Regions from separate parts of the Homo sapiens genome. Here all the other regions are linked to region 1. Evidence: promoter capture Hi-C in 16 types of primary human blood cells and fetal thymus (Javierre and others, 2016). All regions are on one chromosome and are shown on one strand. Each heading gives the region's core, a stretch centred on a gene start or on the middle of the fragment in contact. The rest is flanking DNA. Distances are from core to core; before and after follow the strand shown. Region 1 holds the start of ACIN1 (apoptotic chromatin condensation inducer 1). Region 2 overlaps DCAF11 (DDB1 and CUL4 associated factor 11). Region 3 has its middle 8.6 kb from the start of RABGGTA.

The links. Contacts are between HindIII fragments. The CHiCAGO score rates a contact against its expected background, and 5 or more counts as called.
Region 2: a fragment that was not itself captured here is called in contact with the fragment with the promoter of ACIN1 in region 1 in 1 of 17 cell types (erythroblasts); the score reaches 5.3 in erythroblasts.
Region 3: a fragment that was not itself captured here is called in contact with the fragment with the promoter of ACIN1 in region 1 in 1 of 17 cell types (M0 macrophages); the score reaches 7.7 in M0 macrophages.

What each region holds. Positions count from the first base shown.
Region 1 is chr14:23,092,919-23,096,668 of GRCh38, reverse strand. ACIN1 (apoptotic chromatin condensation inducer 1) reads left to right here and starts at 1,533. Exons shown (of 19, transcript NM_001386863.1): 1 at 1,533-1,694; 2 at 3,125-3,190. The coding sequence starts at 1,557. C14orf119 (chromosome 14 open reading frame 119) reads right to left here and starts at 1,164. Exons shown (of 2, transcript NM_017924.4): 1 at 1,050-1,164. RefSeq lists enhancers at 730-1,253, 1,133-1,342, 1,363-1,442, 1,254-1,777, 1,483-1,792. The HindIII fragment of the contact is 2,975 bases long and covers 1,299-3,750 here.
Region 2 is chr14:24,115,098-24,118,672 of GRCh38, reverse strand. It overlaps DCAF11 (DDB1 and CUL4 associated factor 11), which reads right to left. Exons shown (of 15, transcript NM_025230.5): 1 at 3,380-3,575; 2 at 2,924-3,291; 3 at 1,629-1,756; 4 at 1,280-1,407; 5 at 941-1,005; 6 at 518-618; 7 at 139-285. The coding sequence starts at 3,078. Among named protein-coding and RNA genes, the nearest start is that of NRL, 1.9 kb to the right of the region's middle. The HindIII fragment of the contact is 1,658 bases long and covers 979-2,636 here.
Region 3 is chr14:24,278,443-24,282,042 of GRCh38, reverse strand. It overlaps a transcript of NOP9 not described here. Among named protein-coding and RNA genes, the nearest start is that of RABGGTA, 8.6 kb to the right of the region's middle. RefSeq lists enhancers at 2,029-2,108, 2,449-2,598 and a silencer at 3,156-3,386. The HindIII fragment of the contact is 3,842 bases long and covers 195-3,600 here.

The DNA.
Region 1 (3,750 bases), core at 284-2,783:
GGAGGTTGAGGCTGCAGTGAGCCCTGATCGCGCCACTGCACTCCAGCCTGCGTCAGAGTGGAGGGACCCAGAGTGGAGTGACAAAAAAAAAATTTTTTTTTTTTTTTAGTATGGTATCTATTGGTGCCTTGCAATTTTTTTTTTTTTTTTTTTTTTTTTTGAGACGGAGTCTTGCTCTGTCACCCAGGCTGTAGTGCAATGGCGTGATCTCAACCACTGCTTCCTGGGTTCAAGCGATTCTCCTGCCTCAGCCTCCCGAGTAGCTGGGACTATAGGCGTACGCCACCACGCCCGGCTAATTTGTTTGTATTTTTAGTAGAGACGGGGTTTCACCATATTGGCCAGACTGGTCTCCAACTCCTGACCTCAAGTGATCCGCCCGCCTCGGCCTCCCAAAGTGCTGGGATTATAGGCGTAAGCCACCGCGCCCGGCACCTTGCCACTGATTTTGCATCATGAATGCAACGGAAAGATCAGCCAATTTGACTTTAATAGTTTTCAGTCTCTTAAATCTCTAACGTATCTCTTAAATCTCTAAACTATTTGTCTGTGACCTATTTTACTGTTTGTGTTTCTTCTGCATCAAGTTGGAGGATTGGTAGTGACAAAGAAAGAAGCCCCTAAACAATTAATATTAGTTCAAGTACCAAAAAAGTTCAGGGCGCTTGCATTTTCCAGTTCTTGCCCTACAGGAAGCAGTTCCTCCAAGGGAACTTACTCTCTTCTGCGGAGCAAGGAAGAACTTTCCCAGAATCTTGCCACATGGCTTCCAAGGCAAACTCAAACTCAAGTTCAGCGTCATAGATCAGTTCATAGTCTGGGTCCGAAGACACGGCGATGCTTCTTGCGCACCCCCACGGAGCTTGTTATTCCGATTCCGCACCAGCCCCCCGCCCCTCCCCAAAAAAAGCCTAAGATGGGAGTGGCTATGATTCAGAGGACAGAGGGCAGAAGCTGTTTGCGTTAAGGAGTGGGGGGCTTGCCCTATTAAGGTAATCCGCAAACACCGAGTCTGACCCGGCCCATAGAGGTACTTCTACCCCGCTTACCTCCCCTTTTCTCTCGAAGGGCACCCGAAGATTGTCACGAGTCCTTAGACTCCAACTACTGCGGCAGCTTCCAAATTTCCTGAAAACCCTAAGCTGGGCCAGCCCGGCAGCCCACGCACTTCCGGCCTCGGACCCGCCCCAAACACCCAAGCGCCCCAGCGCCTCATCTCTAGGTCCGGAAATAAACGAACATCTCCGATTATGGTTATACCAGGGTCGAGGGTTTCCGAATATATTCGATTCAAAGCTTCGGCAAGACGAAGAAAACCGAGCCTGAAAGCAGGGCGAGAAAAGGGGCGCTGCAGGGCGGATGGAAAGAATTGATTGGTAACGATGTGGAGACGGAAACATCCGAGGACATCCGGAGGAACCCGGGGAGTTCTGAGTGGTAATCGAGGGGTAGAGTATGGCAGTGGGCGGGGTCATCTCGGTACGTTCGAAGGGCGTTGGCGGAAATTACCGAAGATGCCCGAAGCCGTCGGGACGGACCCGAGTACCTCACGCAAGATGGCGGAGCTGGAGGAGGTGACTCTGGACGGGAAGCCTCTTCAGGCGCTGCGGGTGACCGACCTGAAGGCCGCACTGGAGCAGCGAGGCCTAGCCAAGAGCGGGCAGAAGAGTGCCCTGGTCAAGCGGCTCAAAGGGGTGAGGAGTCGGCGTTGCTGGGGTGTCGGAGGAGAGCGGACCCGGTAGAGACGAGCCTCTGCCGCGGCGCAGGCGCAGTATCCGGGCTCGGCGCGAGCTCGCTCAGGCCGCCAGCGCGAGCCTCTGGATCCGCGCGCACGGTGGTTGATGAGGTTCGCGCTGGAATGGAGATCGCGCCGGTTCCCGCCTTAACGGCAGCAGCGCGAGCCCAAATGGGAGGGTGTGCACTACTCTCCAGGAGTGTCTTAAGCTCCTTCCTCCTTCCCCCACCCCCTCCTTGTTTGTATCTGTGGTTTCGGCGCATGCGCTGCAGAAGGAGTTAAATCCCACTACAACCTACGGCGTTGCTGGCCTGAGGGGGGCGAGTTGGGCTGGGTCGGAGTTAGGGGTATAGTTGCGCGAAGGGGTGGATGGGGTTGGTATCGGTATCTGCACGAATAGGACTGGGGTAGGGTAAAATGTCTGCTCGATTAGATGAGGAGGTGAGATGAAGAGAGACCTTTATTTGAAGGGACTTGATGAGAGAGAGGTCTCTAATTTAGTGGCATCTAGTGGCAATTTGGGTGGTTAAGAGTTTGGTGAATATTGGTGAGAGAGGCGAGGCAGGTTGATATATATTGGGGATTTTGAATCGGTTTGAGTAGATTAAGGTGGGATTGTCATGAGGTAGGTGTAGCTCGATTCAAGTGTATAGGTTTGGTTTAAAGAAGGGAAGATGAGGATGTCTTGGTTTTAATTAGAGTTCAACAGGATACGTGGCAGGTAGTGCAGATTAGGTCTGGGTTGGCTCCAGGGTTGAGTTGGCAGACCGTTGCTTATACAGAAGCTGATAGTTTTGTGTGTGTGTGTTTGTGTGTGTGTGTTTGTGTGGATAGACTAGGTTAGACCACAGTTTACAGGGTCTGTGGTCATTTTCTTCTGTAGCTTCCTCTTTGAAAATTTTATAAATTTGATAAATCTAGGTGCCACAGTACTGGAAATTATACAAATTGACCCTGGTACTGGGTAACCCTTTGACCAAGTAATTCCGTCAGGCAAAAACCAGGAGCCCCATGGCTGGTTTGAGTATTTTAAGTAATTTTACATGCATGATCAGATTTAGAAGGGGCACTTGGCGAAAGTGCAGAAGATAATAGGGATTTTAGTACTGGTTCTATTACTGATATTATGACATAGCCAGGTCACTGATTCTGTGTGCCTGCATTTTATATCTGTACATTTAGTAACAGTAACCATGGCTACCTTTATGGGTCTTCTGAAGATGAATGAGAACAGTGTTAGTAAAGGGTTTTCAGGTCCCTGGAAAAGGAATACAGTTTAATTGTGTGTATTTAAGTCATTGCGTTTAATTTAGAGGTTGTGGTAGAGGTGGGGGTTTGTTTTTCTTTTTTTTCCTCATCATTTCTGACTTTTACCCTTCTCTATACCAGGCTCTAATGCTAGAAAATTTACAGAAACACTCAACACCCCATGCTGCATTCCAGCCAAATTCCCAGGTGAGAAAGAAGGTGTATTCAATGGAGTGGGCCCTTTGGATATCCAGACACATGGAAGGACGTGGTGTTGTATATTTGATGCTTAAGTCCTCATGACTGTTTTCCTAAGTTCTCTTAGTCAGAAATGTTCTCAAACCAGGACAGTTGAATTCTAATCAACCCAGTTGTATACAAGGGCCTGGAGTAAAGAACAGAATCAGAGGCACTGTTAGTTTATAATAATTGAAATGGCATGTGTAGAAAGGTGTGGCTTCCATTAATTACGTGTAGTACAGAGATCTGAAGTCATTTATCTGCCATGAATTTAGGAAAGGTAGTTGATGTCTTTGAGTATAGATATGAAGTAGATCACCAATATGGCAGTGTAGGGAAATAGTTGCTGATTAAGAACTCTTGTTGATGTAGATTTTCCAAGGGTTCAATCCTGTGTAAGTCACCCACCATTACTAGTGTTAACTACTAACTCAGTGCACTTACTCATAAACATTACTAATACCTCTTTACTTAGGATAAGAAACAACCTTTGGAGGCCTTGGTCTTCTCCATTTCCTTATCTGTAA
Region 2 (3,575 bases), core at 558-3,057, 1.0 Mb before region 1:
ACAGGGGACAAGGGTACTGGAGCACTTTGGGAGTGATTTTCCCAGGACAAAGTGAGGGATCCTGGCTCAGAGGGGACAGGCACATGGAAACCTCAGGTCCCAGGCTGGAGAGTCAGTGGAAGCCTGGTGCATACTCACTGTAATCAGACCAGCTAGAGTAGAGGAAGTGGTTCCCATCAGGGGTGAAGGCCACATCCAAGACGCTCCAGCCTACGTCGCGGGCCTTGATGCTCTTGAATTTACGGAAACGGCCATATCGGCAGTCATAGAGTCGGATTGTCTGGTCTGTGTAAGTAAAGATCAGGCAGAATTATGGGACAGTTTCCTTGTAACTTTTCTAGATTAGACATCTCCCACTCAGTGTACCTGTGGAGTCTTCCCTTTATCATGGGAAACATGGTCTGGCTAAGCATCCTTAAGCCAGGTCTGAGCTCCCCGTCTGTGGCTTTCTAGCCTCAGTCAGGGGGAATGTCCCATGTTCCAGGAAAAGATAGTTTATAGGACCAGGGTCTGGTACCTTGGCAAGCAGACATGAATATTTGACCATCTTTGCTGTAGATGCCACAGAAAGCCTTCTGAGAGTAGCTATCAGTGAAGCCCAGATCATTGGGCAAGAAGCTAGGGAAGGAGAGAGAAAGTGAGGGTGAGGGGTGCTCAGGATAAGGAGTGTCCCAATCAGCAGAATCCTAACAGAGCTGGAATATCAGAACAGTCATTCTTCCCTTTTGGCTGTGAGTGCAATCCCGTCTTTCAACCATTCCACCATCCTCTAAATTTCTACAATTTTCTACACTTTTCTACTTTGTTTACTCTCAAAGTTTCAACCCCATTTAACCTAACCTTTAATATCTCTGAGGCTCCTTTAACACCTACCCCTTCAAAGTTTAGGAGATAAGACCTATCTGGCCCTTAGAGTCTCTTCACCAAGCCCCATACTCACTGAGATATCACTCGAGACTGTTCTCCAAGGGAGAAGCTTCCCCGATGGCAGAGGCCCCGTTCTCTCTAAATGGAAGGGATTGGGGAATATTGCTAGCAGAAATAGAGGGCCACTTCAGCCATATCAAGCCCCCTCCTCCAAAGATATTGCTCTTGTTATAGAAATGGACACACACATCATAGTCTGTCCCACAGAACTCCGATGGAGGCTGGTTAACTCTCCAGCCCCAGCGCTTGAGGCTTCTACTTTGGAAAGTTGACTTCCTTTTTCTCTGGGGCTGGCAGAGCTTCTGGCTGCTTTGGCAGGCCTGCTGCCAGGCTGGGAGGTGGAGAGGCCTACCTGGTGCAACATTCGAGGAAAGCTGTGCTTCTGGGCGGCCCGCCTAAGCCCCAGCTGCCCTGTGGCCAGTTCCACTTGTGTCTTGATCTCATTGAATTCCAGCTCCCGGGTGTCAGGGGTAGCATCCACTGTGAGTACCAAGGAGAAGTTTCATCCTAGGTCTGCCAGCCTCAGAGGACAGTTAGCAGAACTGTACCCAAGCCCACCCCTGTGGCTGAATATACTGGGGCTGTAAGGACTCCTTATTCCTTAAATTATCGTACCTTCTTTCAATGTAACCTATCATTCAAAATATCACTAAAAGGTTTTCTAGTAAAAGTCTTCCAACATTAGGGGCTTTTCCTCTTACCAGGTGGGTTGTATCGATCCCCAAGACGACCATCCCAAGCTCTGTCATTCTCTTCCTCTGAGTCCAAGAGGGCCTGAATGAATTGTAAATTTGCTGCACCTCCTCCCTGCACCAACCTCACTTGGCCTCTGTGGAGAGACCCCCATTATAAAGGAGGGGACTTCTTCCCCCAAACCAACCAAATTCAGAGTCAATGGCTATCTAGCTCTTAGACCACTTGGTACTCATTTTGAGGTTTGAGGCTGACTAGACCTTGGCTGTTATTTTTGGTCTCCTATAAAACACAGTAGGAAAGAGAGTTTTACTCTTACAGCAAGAGCAAGACCAACATGCTGTGGACGTGACCTACTAAGTTGACCTCCCAGCGAGCTAAACATTCTAACATCATTTCCTTAGAACAAGAGCAAGACCAATACGCTGTGGACATGACCTACTAAGTTGACCTCCCAACAAGCTAAACATCCTCACAGCATTTCCTTCTGAGCCTCTGCCTGAGAAGTCCACCACAGAAGACAATATTCTAAGCTGGGTGCGGTGGTGTGTGCAACTGTAGTCTTAGCTACCTGGGAGGCAAGGATTGCTTGAGCCCAGGAGTTGCAGGCTGTGGTGTGCACTTGATCACACCTGTGAATAGCCCGTTCTCCAGACTGGGGAACACAGTGAGCCCTGTCTATGTCTACTAAAAACAACACAAAACACAAACAAAAAAGAATACAATATTCTGAAGGGACCCCCAAACCCATCTTCTCCTCAAAGAGCCATAAGCAAAGAAAGAAAGCCAGCTGCACCCTTTTCCAGTCAATTCCAGGTGGTCTCTCCCTTCAAGGCATTCTTTCCTCAAGAACAGGTTAGAGTCAGGGCAAATTAAACTTGTTTTTCAAGTAAATCGAAGTGGCCTCATATCATGTGTCAACTGCCTTACTAAAAAGTTCAACACTCCCTTCCCATCTCTTCACCCCTTACATCACTCCTTTCCCACTAGGACCCCCCCCTTTTTTTTTTCAAGCTTACTTGGAAAATAGACTATATTTGTGTAGTCACAGAGACAGGCTCCCTTGAATAGCCCCTCAAACACATGAGCAGGTCCTCTTGGTGACCCTCCCTAGGTAAGAACCACTCTTACTGGGTATGGAGCTGAGTGCCATGGGTGCCCAGCAGGGAAAGGCTGTTCAGCTCAAACAGAACAGCTGTCCTGAGCGAATCCCATTTCCTAACCTCTGTAATTTTCCTGCCTGGAGTTGGGATCAAGGCACTGTGGTAGCACCTGCTGGGGGTCACACCAGAGGGTAAGTTACCTGCGGAGGAGATAGGCCAGTACCTGGGCCAGATCCACATCTTCATCCTCTTCTTCCTCTTCCTCACTCCGACGCAGGCCAGCCCCTCTTCGGGGCAAGCCCTCGGAGGGGTCTCCGGACCCGGATCCTGCACTGCTGCTGTTCCGCGATCCCATCTTCTGGTCACAGCATTCTTAGGTCCTGTGCGGGGGCTCCTCCTGTCACCTCCTTGGGTTTGGTGAAAGCAAAGCGTGCTCTAGAAATACCAGGGTCTCCTGAGACGGGGTAGTAGCTATCTCTAGGAGGGTGACCCTTCCTCGGGGCTGAGATCCCTTTTCTTTAGCCTATGCCAACTACCAAGGCGTCGGGAACACAAACCTTCTCCAATCCTGTGAAGCAAAGAAAGCAAGAGTGAACCGTAGTGCGCTACCCTAGCTCACCAACTGAAGAAAGATTTGTTTTCTACACCAAACTCACCTATCGAAGTCCCCGGACTGGGGAGCGGGAGGGGTGTTGGGCGGTGTTGGATTTCCAGGTAACCTCTCTGACCGACCAATCGAAATCCCTCTCGGAAGAAAGCGCTTCACTAGCTTATCTCATCTAACCAATTAGAAGCCTTAGGACTCAAAGACCCTCGACGCCCCCACCTTATCGACCAATCAGAGCGCCCCCT
Region 3 (3,600 bases), core at 866-3,365, 1.2 Mb before region 1:
TATTTTTAGTAGAGACGGGGTTTCCCAGGCTGGTCTCAAGCTCCTGGCCTCAAGTGATCCGCCCGCCTTGGCCTCCCAAAATGCTGGGATTACAGGCGTGAGCCACTGTGCCGGCCTCTGGTTTGGTTTTGACTTTGGAGGCCTTCTACTTTGGGTAGAGGAAGGGTTGGGGACTGGGCAGAATGGTGAAAGCTTTCCCAAGCTCACCCAGCCTAAGTTCCTCTTGGCCACATTGAGCCTTACTCTTCCCTAAACTTGACCACACTCCCTTTCCTCTGCGCCTTTGCTCCAGCTGTTCTGATCTCTGGATTACTGCTCATTCTTTCACCCAGCCCCCAACCCCATTTTGCCTGCCAGAATTCATCCAGCCAGGCCCATCTCAACCTCCTAGAAGTTTCTCCTGGCGTCTTCTACCCTTGCTTTGCCCGCTTCCAGGGAACCTCTTACTATGAAATTCACTTGGCTCTTGACTAGTGTTAGAGCCATAGATGTCTTCATCCATTTCCTGGATAAGGATGACTCCTTCCCAAAGTTAGGGATTAGGTCTTGAACCCTTCATCCCCCATTCTCCTGCTGTCTCCTTCCCCATGCACAGAAACTTTGAAACCTTCAGCACAGAACTGCACAGTACCTGGGGCAAACCCAGAGTGTGGCTGAACTCACAGGCCCAGTGAGACCAATTGGTGAGAGCTCCACCCTTCCTCCCTGAGGGGAGGTATGCTGGGCCAGCCATGGCAGTGTCTGTATCCCAGGACTGACCCTCTAAGGACTCATTGATCCCTGCTATCCATCGGTCCTTGGCCTCGGCCCCACACACCACACCTCAGCCTCAAAACCCCCGCTCAGGGGCCTAAGAGAGAATTTCCCAACAGGGCTGCCAGCAGTGGGAGCCTTGGATGCCTCTGTAGGGCTACTCCAGGTCCTCCCTGCCCCTCTTCCCCTCAGTGTTCTTTGCCAGGCACAGAGCTCAAGCCTGAGTCATGATTGGGCCCACAGGGGACTCAGGAACACAGCATTGCTCCTGTCAGCAGTTCCAGGCATTCTCCTTTACACTGAATTCTGAGCTTCGGAACCACTCCCTGTCCACTCCCTCCCGGTGCTGCGAGGCCTGGCCCTACAGCCTGGAGTGCAGCCACCCCTGACCAAGCTCCCTGCCCTGGGCTCTAAGATCCCCAACTCCTCCTCCTCATCTCCCACCCCAGCCCAGTGGGTGGGTGCCTCCATGGCTCACCATTTATTCATTCATTCATTCTTTCCCAACTAGTCTCAATACCCTGTTTCATTTCCCTCAGGGGCACTTAGATTCCCTGAAATTGTCTTAGGTGTGTATTTGCTCCTACAGGGACTGTCTCCCCAACTATAATGTAAGCCCTATGACAGCAGGGACCTTGTCTGTCTTGGTCACCACTGTATATTGAGCTGTACTGGCGCTCAATAATTGTTGGTTGATAATTGACTGGCTAAATTATGTTAACGTTAGTTGAGCAACCACCATGGTGCAGGCACCTTGCTAGGTGAGAGGAAATGCAGTCAAATGAGTCCCCTTGGGTAGGTAGTTCACAGCAGGAGCAGAAGTGGGGCGCTGCACCCACAGGATGAGCTATAATGCAGGCACCACAGGACCTGGTGCTGAGAGGAACAGAAGAGGCACTTGACCGAGCCCCAAGCCAGGGCTTCTGCTCACCTACAGCCCCAGCTCCCACTCACTTCCTTTAGGAAGCCCACCCCCATTCTCAGACAGGGCAGCTCCCCATCAGGTGCTCACCCAGCACCATATGCCTCTCCATAAAGGCAGAGCAGTTGACAGAGTTGTCCTTCTACATTTGCTTATGTGATTATTTCCATCATCCAGAAAGTTCGATTAAACAGCCCAGGGCTAGCCTGTATGCTCAGTGAGGCAGGGACTTTGTCTGTGCTCTGCTCACTGTCGCAGCCCCCACCCTAGCGTGGATCAGGCACAGAGGGCCCTCAGTCAGTATTTGTTGGATGGATGAATGGGACAGGGAAAGGGCGAGGCCTGAGTGCTCCCCCAAAAGGAGCGGTTCCTCTTTCCTCCCCTAGAGGAGTATGTCCTTAGCCCCCTGTGTTCATCTACCAGCGACAGCATCCCATCCTTCCCCAGGACCCACAGTCTCACTTTGTTCCACAGCTTCTGCTTCTCACTTGACATAGAACGTCAGGGCTTCTGCCTCCTGGTACCACTCACATCATATATGCCCAAAACCGAATGTGATGGTGCCCCCTGCAGCTGGGCAGCAGCCTTGCCAGGCAGTGAGCTTCTTGGCTACATTCCCACCTCCACCAGTGCTCTGGGCAATTTTTAGCCAACATGTCATTATCATCACCAGTCACCATGCAGTGCCTGGCTCCTGTCACAGAGGCTTCAGTTCTGGCTGGCTCAAGAAGTTTTTCCAGCTTTTCAACACCATTTCTTGGTTGCTTTTCCCTCAACTCTTCCCCAAGAGACGCCAACCTGAGTCAGTACCCACCACACCCTGGGAGAGTTAGAATGCTCTTGTGGGGACTTTCCCTCTGGGGCCCTTCTGTCTTTTAGGGCAACCTTGGGGACCTGCCCTCCCTTCTCACTGGCTAACCTGTTTCGTCTTCTTCCCCAGCCAGGAAGTGTGCTACAGGCACGTGGCAACCCCCATGGGCCATCAAGCAATTTCCCCAGCCTGACTCAGAAGGAACTGGGGAGCAGGGAGAAGAGAAAGAATGCAAGCATTCAAACCAAGTGTCCAAGGAATGGTCAGTTGTGGGGAATGGGCAGTGGAGAGGATCTTCTTGGGCTCTGAGTTACTCTAGTCCCCTGCTCCATCCCAGGGATCAGCATCTTTCAGAACTTCAGAGTGGAGAGACTCTGGTCTCTGAATGTCCACTACTACGTTCTCACAAAGTGGTTGACCAACATATGCTTGAATGCCTCCCACCTCTCATTGAGGCCCATTCTACCTTTGGTAGAATAATTAGCTTTAATTATTAGAAAGTCCTTCCTCATAAAGGATCTACATCCACTCTCTGGTCTTTGGTCTTTGCTCTCAAGATATGCAGAATCAATTCGGTTTCTATTCCAGGAGTTGAAAGACCATTATCATCTGCCCCTTGAATCTTCTCTCCCAGTTCAGTATCTTCATGTCTTCCCTGTGGTCATGGGCTCTTCTCACCATCCTGATTTCTACCTCTGGACTCTACAGTTTGTCTCTGTCCCTCTCAAAATGGGCCACACACTCCTCACAGGGTTTGACTCTCACAGAGTCTGGGGCCTATGAGCCCCATTGTTCTGGGTACTAAAGCTCTCTTAGTGCATCCCAAAGTCATGTTAGTGCTTTTGGCAAGCAGATCACAGTCAATTCTTTCCAATCTCTTATCAGCCAGAGTCCTCCTGTCTTCATACACTATCGTTATTCCACCCCTCACGTATCTCACTCTTGTGCAGCTGATTATCTGAAGACCAAAGAACCAGAGTGTAATTCTGTCCCTATTCAATACCACATGACAAATCTGGCCCAACAATCTCACCAGACGCCATCATCCAGTATTCCTCCCAATTATGTGCAAGTGACCTTCGATTATGAGAGTGGCATCTGTGCTCATCCCACG